2 separate regions of the Homo sapiens genome follow, and region 2 is linked to region 1. The links are contacts of gene promoters, found by promoter capture Hi-C in blood cells and fetal thymus (Javierre and others, 2016). All regions are on one chromosome and are shown on one strand. Each heading gives the region's core, a stretch centred on a gene start or on the middle of the fragment in contact. The rest is flanking DNA. Distances are from core to core; before and after follow the strand shown. Region 1 holds the start of DNAH11 (dynein axonemal heavy chain 11). Region 2 has its middle 120 kb from the start of CDCA7L.

Evidence for each region. Contacts are between HindIII fragments. The CHiCAGO score rates a contact against its expected background, and 5 or more counts as called.
Region 2: a contact is called between a fragment that was not itself captured here and the fragment with the promoter of DNAH11 in region 1, in 1 of 17 cell types (naive B cells). The highest score is 5.2, in naive B cells.

Annotation. Positions count from the first base shown.
Region 1 is chr7:21,540,575-21,545,547 of GRCh38, forward strand. DNAH11 (dynein axonemal heavy chain 11) reads left to right here and starts at 2,465. Exons shown (of 82, transcript NM_001277115.2): 1 at 2,465-3,022; 2 at 4,432-4,575. The coding sequence starts at 2,672. RefSeq lists enhancers at 1,787-2,288, 4,621-4,973 and a silencer at 2,337-2,386. The HindIII fragment of the contact is 2,819 bases long and covers 1,782-4,600 here.
Region 2 is chr7:22,066,229-22,070,765 of GRCh38, forward strand. No RefSeq gene overlaps it. Among named protein-coding and RNA genes, the nearest start is that of CDCA7L, 120 kb to the left of the region's middle. The HindIII fragment of the contact is 894 bases long and covers 851-1,744 here.

The DNA.
Region 1 (4,973 bases), core at 1,215-3,714:
ACAACTATGTAGCTTAAAACCAATAATCATTCATTATTTTCATGCATCTGTGGGCTGACTGAGAGTAGATTGATCAAGACTAGCCTTCGCTGGACTTGCCTCTGAGCTACAAAAGTCGGGTCCAGGCTGGTTCCCTGCATTAGCAAGCTAACTAGGGATGTTCTTCTCAAGACAGTGGCAGAGGCACAAGAAGGCAAGCCTCACCATGCAAAGACATTCCAAGCATCTGTTTGCTACTACACTTGATCTTAGCCAAAAGAAGCGATGCCTCTGTTTGTTATGTCTGCCAATATCCTATGGACCAAAGCAAGTCACATGGCCAGCCACAACTTTAATAGCACAAAAAGGTATAAGCATACTCTTTTCATGAAGGTGGGGTTGGGGGAGAGATATTTGCTAAAAAATAGTCTCATCTACCATTTTTTTTTTCCTATTTCTGGTGAGGAAACTCAGGCACCTAGAAAATAGAAATGGAATGCAAATTCAGTTGGTATAGCTCCACTCTATTCAGTAGAAATCTAGCCTGTATCTCCAATATGAGGGTAGAAACTTAATCTGTTTTGTTTTCTGTTATATTTCCCAGCACCTAGAACAGTGCTTGGCACTTAGTAGGCATTCAGTAAAGATTTGTTAGACAAATGAATGAACTCAGCACAGCACATGGCACATAATTGGTACTTGATCAATGTTAGCTATTATTATTGAGAAAAAATACATAAAACTTGGGAACAAGGTAAAGCCATGTTCATTCACTGTCACATTGAAACACTGCTTCACCGGCCAATGAAAGGATTATTAATTATTTAGGGAAAAGTATCTTTTTTGGACTCATTAACTACTACTGATCGAAGTCTCAAACTCTGAAGTTACGTTTTTATTTACAGATTTTTGTTCAATACAGATGTAATTTATTTTGGAAAAACAAATTATTTTTTAAAAAACAAAGGATTATTTTGCCCTGTATGACATTAGTGAGTGTTGTTTTGAACCTAGCAAGCTGACTCATCCTGTCTTCCTCCAATGCTGCTAAATTTCTTTCTCGAACTGTCCTTGGAACTTACATCATTTTGTTGCTTTCCTCATTTATGAGTTAAATCAATCTTTGACATATCTTCATCTTATATTTCGAGTTACATAGTTAACTTTTTGGAAATTGCACTTTAAAGTTAGCATCATTTAAAAAATTTTCCTGCTAGATTTGAAAGTGGTTATTCACTTTCAATTTAATTCAACTATTATTTACAGAATTCCCGGTTTTCTAGGTTACAGGGATGTGAAGCTGGAATATAAGAGGGGAGAGAAGGAACTGGTGATTGCCAGCCTTGTATACCAGCAACTGGGAGCCCCAAAGATTATTATGGACAATATAAAGCAGCCTTGACAGGTTAGAAGTCATTATCAAAGTTTTCCAAGGCCCTGTGTTATTTCAAGATTCTGATCACATAACTGGAAACTTGTCGATGGTTTTCAGGGGCAGTTAATATCCTGCAAAGAAAAAAATTGTTGAAGCCTCATCTTCTGGAAATGTCTGTCAACATTCAGGTATTAAATGGATTATTGTGGGCAACAGTCCTTCAGTAGCCCCCATGGAAGGGGTGGGGATTGAAGACTTTAGTTTGAAATAAACAATTAACAAAGGAGACTTAAAAGTTTAGTTGAGGACTCCTCCTCAAAATTCTGGTTGCTTTAATAATTAGAATTTCCATAAGAGTCTCAACGAAAGCCACTAATGGACCGCAGTGAAATCCTATTTCAGTATCATGAAACTGTTTTTAATCTGAAGCTTTTTCTCTTTGACCTTTTTACTCTTGAATTAAATGATAAATCTATAGATTTTCGGAACATTTTGGAGATCACGAAAGGGCACTGTGCGTTCTCTTACTGGGTGTACTGAAGTTCCAGTAAGTTTCAGGTTGAGGATGGCAATCAGGAGGACTTCGAATACTTAGATCTTGGATTCCCACAACTAGGAAAGTTGAATTGCAGGACTGGCTCTCTTCTGGTAATATTTGGACACCTTGGGAAAGGTGAATAACAGCCTTCAACTTGGGCCCCGAAACTTCTCTGTTACTTATTTTTGTAACTTAGTTCCTTGCCCATAAAACAAAGACTGACCAGTCAGAGACTTGGCTTTCTACGGATTATGTCAACTAGTCAAGGTAAGAGATTAGCACGGACCTTGGCACAAGAGAGCATTGCTTCATCCAGAGCACTTAACCAATGCTGGGATCTCCACCAAGTGTCCAGTAGGCGAAGGAGCCGGAGGGCAGTGGAGCGAGCGCACTGGGGGCTCAGACCCACCCCGGACACGCGGCTTCTCGGCCGTGTTCGGGACCTAGAGCCCGAGGGCCTCTCCCCTCGGCCTTGGCCTTGGCGTATACTGGGCGGTGGCGCGGTGCGCTCACTCCGCCCCCAGCGGGCTGGGGCGGGGACACCGTCCCCCGGGAAACGGGACGCGCTGCTTGTCCCAGGCCTTCGCTTCGGCCTGCGAGGCTACAGCTGTGCGCAGTGGCGCGGCTGCTAAGTAGCAGCAGGTGGGAGACTAGGGTCTGCGCTCGCGGCGACCGCGGAGGAGGGTGGGCGCCTGCGGAGGTGTCCTCGCTCACTTCGGGGGGCCCAGAGTCTCGGGTGAGGAGCCAGCCGGCCTCGCGTTCCCTCGGACGGTTGCCCAATGGCAGCCCAGGTGGCAGCCCGGGAGGCGCGAGACTTCAGAGAAGCCCCGACCCTTCGCCTAACCTCGGGGGCCGGCCTGGAGGCAGTGGGCGCTGTGGAGCTCGAGGAGGAGGAGGAGAACGAGGAGGAGGCGGCGGCCAGGAGAGCGCGGAGTTTCGCCCAAGACGCGCGGGTGCGCTTCCTCGGCGGCCGCCTGGCGATGATGCTGGGGTTCACGGAGGAGAAATGGAGCCAGTATTTGGAAAGCGAGGACAACCGGCAGGTTCTTGGGGAGTTTCTGGAAAGCACCAGCCCGGCTTGCCTTGTGTTTAGCTTCGCCGCCTCGGGGCGCCTTGCGGCTTCCCAGGAGGTAAGAGGCGACGGGCAAGGGGACCTGCCCATCCAACAAAACTACCCAGGGGAGACAGCCCAGTCGCTCCCCTTTGGATTCCCGCGGGGCGCTCACTCGGGCACTTTAACAAACTTGGCTTGAAGTCCCCATCCTGAGGCCCGCAGGACTCCTCCCCACGTGCACCCACTCTGCAGTTCAGCAGCTGCAGGTTAGTTTCCTAAGTCAGCAGTTTGTATCTGACCGAGAATCCCGCGTTGAGCCTGTTCGACCAGGATAACCCAAGAACACCAGCGCTTTCTTTAGCTGCTTGGGTGTTAGGCGCCAGGTGGGCTTTCTGTGCCAAAAAACTTGCGTTTCAGTTGCTCTTGGGTCACTCTGGAGTCACATCCTTTAAAAAATGGGGTGTTTGGCAGAGCGCATGTAACTCGTCACGTATTTTGATTACGTGCCAACAACACTTCACCCCAGGCAAAAACATTAAGTCCTTAAAAAGGAAGGCCCCTGCAATCTCCGCACACATGGGTGTTTACTGAACATTTAGAGGGAACAGTTCCCTCCTTTCTTCTTTTTCTTCCTTTTCTTTTTGAATTTCGATGATTTGTCCACTAAAAGGTTAACGTATCACCTAACGTACAGCACTTGTATTTAGTATTTTTCAAGTATGATGAGTTTGGAGCAAGATTCACAATTTTTAAGTAGCGCAATGCTCAGTTTAACATGTTATGTCGTTTTATCACTAGGTGTGGTCATTGTAATAGTTGGGAAATAGGATCTCAGAGAAGAAAGAGTAATAGGAAGGCTGCCTTATGGTATTGTGAATTTTGAATTCTTTTGTTTTAGGACTCTCCTAATTGTAACTTTAAAAAAAATAAGTTTGTCAGTAGACAAGGCGATAGAACACAACTCTAGTATTACCTAAGTTAAATAGTTATTATAATGTTCAATGGAATGACTCAGTAGTTGTGGAAATGTTAGCATGTTTTGGTTATACGGTTCTATTCTTTGATAGAAATACAAATTAACCTCTTGGGCTTGTCTTTATCTCAGTTTGGCTTATTTCCAAACCAGAGAAGAGTATAAAAAATAACCCTTTAGGATTGAAACATTTCTACATGCCTACGTGCTCCTTATTTGTTTTTAGTTATAAGATTTTTTTTTTGGTGTATAATGAACTGGTATAATTGGCATGCCTTTAAAAGGTGATATTTCCACACCAGTAATGCTGTGAAATTAGCATTATAAAAGAACAAAGAAAACTGTATACTCGCTGCATACTAGGGAAGAGCCGTAGAAGGACCTTGTTTATAGGGCAGGCAAGATGCCAGGTTTTGTTTCTTCTGCTAGCAATACAGCTACAAGTTGGATATAGTAAATCCTGCTTGTTAACAAGAAAACTACTTGAACTAATTATCTTGCTCTTGTTTTAGATTCCAAGAGATGCAAACCATAAACTTGTTTTTATTTCCAAGAAGATTACTGAAAGCATTGGAGTAAATGACTTTTCTCAAGTGGTTTTATTTGGAGAGTTACCTGCGTTGTCTCTTGGACATGTATCTGCTTTCCTTGATGAGGTACTGGTCTGTCTTTAATATTTAAAGCTTTCACTTATCTCCATGACATTTGAAATTATTTAGGACAACTCCGATAATTAAAAAAAGAAGAGCTAGGAGGGGAAGGGAAGGGGATGGGGGTGGTTAAAAAAAAAAAAAAAAAAAAAAGCTTGTAGAAGCCAGGAGTCTCTAGCCAGGTGGATGGAGTCATAACATCTAGACTGTTCCTGAAAGGAGCTCATGCTTACTGATGCTAATATTCAACAGGTGGCAATTGCAGGGATCATTCTCTCCCTTTCTTCCTTCCAACACAATAGAAGCAAATAAAAAGCAACTTGAATAGGTTCTTGCACCTTAGCAGCAGGTTTTAAGCTTCACATTCAGAGTAGAGACAAATTTACACTTTGAAAATGAGTATT
Region 2 (4,537 bases), core at 48-2,547, 520 kb after region 1:
GACAGTCAGTGCTAGGCCATAGGACCAATTTTACAACACCGGGGAATCTTCATGAAGACTCTTGAATATACGTTCTGTCAGCAATGGCTGCTATAGAGTAGAAGGTGTCACTGTGATGCATATGTAGATAAAAGCAGATTGAAACAATGTTTATTTTAAGCAGGTAGCCAACGTTCAAAAGATCATCCAGCAATTTCTACAAACCCAGCTCTGCTGTAAACTGTAAAATGAGAAGGTACTCTTTTGAAGGAAGTACAGTCCAAAAGCAGAGAATTCCCACCAAAAATAAAAAGGAGAACCCCATCCCGCTTTACTTTCCATCTTCATGGAAAGTTTCATGCTTTTGTGTGTGTGTGTGTCCCTTCCTTCTCTCCTGTTTCCTGACACCCTCTAATTAGTGCTCTCATCGCTGCCTCTGGCACCACGCATGCTGTAGGTGGTTGGCGTGACACTGGATGCCTGCCCCTGCAGTGCTATTAGGCACCCTGTGGCGCACAAACAAAAAGCCCAGAAAGCCTGACCCAACCATTTTCCTATGAATAGAACGTGCTTTCTTTATCAAGATAAAAGGTGCTTGTCTATTTGTATAGAGAGGAGATACACATATACGCATAAATATAGAGAACCTTGTGTATGTGTATTGCATGTGAGTTTCCTAGTCTAAAAAGGTTCTGGGTCAGAAATATTTTGGCATGTCCTTAAATAGATTCAAAGTTCCTGAAAGACGTCCTCCACGTTTGAAAGACTTAGAGAGTGAAACTTTCTTAGAAGGAAGCTGGAATTGAGTGAAATCTCTTGATCTTGAGATTAAAGAAGCTCCTAAGAAATAGATAATCCTGACTTTCTTCCAAGCTTCTTTCATGACATCTTAAGGTGGAGCTTCTTCCTTTGCCTTGGAGAGAGAAATCACAGGATCTCTGTAGTTCCAGTCCCTTTCCACCTCCAGTATGGGATGGAAAGAAGCTGGGTTTTTCTCTCACAGTCAGATATCCAATTAGTATTTATCAAGTGAATACCAAGGGCTGCTTCATTGGCTAAAGAGGACTTTTGCTCTGAAGTTCTTTCTCTGGAGAGTTATATCTCCACACCTCTGTGGGTGTTGAGCTGTTAAAATGACCATGGTGGATGGTAGTGATCAGGACTGAAAATGGGATCACAAGGGAGGATTTGCAAGGTGGCGGGGGGCAGCCTCTTACTGGGGCGGAAAGTCCTAGTACTTACCCAAAAGGGCCAGGGTAGTAGAGAGTATGATGACTATTTAGGACTACATGTTAGACTCATCACAGCCCACTCGACTCTAAAACTGAATGAACACTGGGCTACAGGCCTTGATGATCTCCTATCCTGTCCTAATGTAGGAGGCAGGTTGTCCTCCTTTGCCCTGTATCGTCAGAGACTAGAGCTGATACCTTCTTAAACAGTGGGCAGCGAGAGGTACTCCTTATTTTACTACTGCAGACATTAGGATACACACATCCCAGTTTGCCTGTGACAGTCCCCATTAATTCTTGGTGTCTTGGTGTGCACCTCCTCTCACAAGTGTCCAGGTTTGGAAGGAAAATTTTGTTATCACCCCAATGAGAACTGAGTGCTTAACAAAGACTCGATGCTGTGTCCTTACATCGGACTTGTAATATAGGAATTGAAATTGAGAGCCTGGCTAATCCAAAGCTAGGAAGATTAATTCTGTTATTAATGATAACTGAGGACTATCTACATCTTAAACAAAATGAGTTAGTTGTCAAGCTTTGAGGTGCCTTCCCTTTGCTGCGGCAGTGTTCAATGCTTGGGCTCTCTCATACGGTTGTTTCGGTGTTCCAGGGCAGACAGAAGGTGCACAGGTGAGGGGTAAGCAGGGAGTTCTCTCTCCATGCCACACACACAGAAGAGGCTCCTTGTCCAACTCACACAGAGCACTGTGTGGCTAATGGTGGCCTCAGACATGGTTTGTCACATTGGAAAACGCACATTTTGTTGAAAAGACAAGATGAACATATCACAATTATCGTTAAACCCCACAAGACAATATATGATTAAATCTAATTTTGGAGTGCCTGGAGCAGATCAGGGTAGCCAATAAATAAATGTTGAATAAATAAATGGATGGCTATCATTGACTACTCTAAATGTGTGATGGATTCAGAGAAGGGGAAATGAACAAGGGTTAGCATAGAATGGGTTGTTATCATGGATGAGATGGGAACCTTGAGGGAAGGATAAGTTGAATTGAGTGGATAGGGAGGATTTATGGGGGTGGATAGAGGTGGGAGAGGAACTTTCCATTTTAGAAGAATAACATGAGTGTGGGAGTCAGACAGTGCAATAGTAATCACACCACATACAGTTTTGCCGACAAAAAACCAAAAAACCAAAAAATTTGGTTTTCTAGTGTAAGAGAAAGGAATGATAGAGTCAGTTTTAGAATCTCCTTAGCTATTACTAACCACTGGTCTCTTTGAATACTCTTTGTAAGGCAAAGTGAGTACAAAGTGAGTACAACCCTTAGGGGTCGACATCCCATGAACAACAAAACATTTCACATGTAGCTCGGAATACATTCAATGTATCTGAGTTCTTTGAGGTAAGGGAAGAAAGTTTATACTAACAATTCTGGTTATTGGTTTGCAACTTATAGACCAATGAAATATTTACATTCCATTGATATTTCCAAATAGCCAAGAATGCGATAGGGTTTAATACATAAAACCTTTTAGTATAAAAGCTCTAGAGACAAAGGATCTTTGTCGGCCGGGTGCGGTGGCTCACGCCTGTAATCCCAGCACTTGGGGAGGCCGAGGCGAGTGGATCATGAGGTCAGGAGATCGAGACCTTCCTGGCTAACACAGTGAAATCCCATCTCTACTAAATATGCAAAAAATTAGGTGGGCAAGGTGGCAGGCGCCTGTAGCTCCAGCTACTCGGGAGGCTGAGGCAGGAGAATGGCGTGAACCCAGGAGGCAGAGCTTGGACGCCGTCTATAAAAAAAAAAAAAGGATCTTTGTCTTTTTATTCCTTGACATGGCCCAAGCCTCTAGACCAGTTGCTGGCACATGGTAGCCATGCAATCAGTGTCTGTTGAGTGAATTACTACCCACTGTCCAAGAGACAGTTCTTCTTCATTATCAGAAAAGAACTTTGTGACCATTAGTTTAGCTGTCTGAATAGATAAGAGGAAGATTGTTCTGATTTCCTCATGCTTAACATTTAGCCATGATTATAATGGCTGAAAACCTTTGAAGCTTTTGAACAGATCCCAGTTCTCTATTTCACTGGGGAGAAATTGCCCAGGACCCATGAATTTGGATGTTCTCCCTTTGAGCAACATTCATAGAAGATGTACTCAAAACAACGCAGACCATATGGGTGATGTTAAGAGCCTTTAGAATCTCACAGACTGAAAATCCATTCTTTTACAACCCAAAGGTGCTGAGATCAGACATTCTAAAAACCAAAGCTTGCTAAACCTTTTAAAAGTAAATAGTTTCTATACTGCATTATTGGGGTTGAAAGGGCAAACTGGGTATGGCAGTTTTTTCTATCTATTCTCAAATGCTTTGACATGACAGTCAGGATGAAGGGTAGCATTCATGTCTTAGACCAAAAAATCACATTGGTTCCAACAAGGTGATTCAGACAGTGTAAGGATGGACTTATATGCTAATTCTACTTCCAGTAACAGCTCATGTCACCTTTAGCAAACTGGGTTATTCTCAAAAAGTTAAAGACCATGCCCTGAAATTGGTCTTTGGGATATAGCTTATAATTAAGAATAAACCAACTTGCAAATGACTCTACCTTAGATATAAAAATAATAACAGTTCTAATCACCAAAATCAGCACAGTTACATAGTTACATTAATGAAATGAACAAGGAAAAATATATTTTCATACATAAATTTATAGATCTCTATAGGAAAAGAGAAGGGATTGATCTATCTAAATATATTTCTATATCTGTCTAGTAAGGCATTTACTAGACAGATACAGAATTATAGATTCCACAGAAGGAATCTATAATACTACTAAAGATAGACTATCAGCTCACCTATCAAAACTGTACTCCACTCTTTTGTGTCTTAACAATGTACTTTCTATCATTTTCAGTTTTATTTATTGGCTACATATTTGAGAGTCTTTCAGTCTATCACAACTCTTCTTTGTGCACCTTACCAAAAGAAACCCAAAGTAAAGAGAGCAAGGCACACTTTAATAGCCTGTTCAGATATGGTCTAATTTAAAAACCAAACATTCTCTTAAAGCCAGAGAAAAACTCTTGACTTAGGTCAGATGACCTCAAATCAAAGCAATAATAGGTTCTCAACAAGCATTTAATTCAAGATAATATAACGGAAATGCCTAGCACAGGGCCGGGAACATAACAGTAACTCAGTGGTAGCCATTGTCACTATTATTTTAAAAAACTAAAGTCTGACATATGGTTTTGCTTTTTTTTTTCATGATTGGGTAAATATATTTCATTAAATCATGGTTCTCAAATCAAGCTGGGCATGAAAATGAGCTGATGTTTAAAATACAG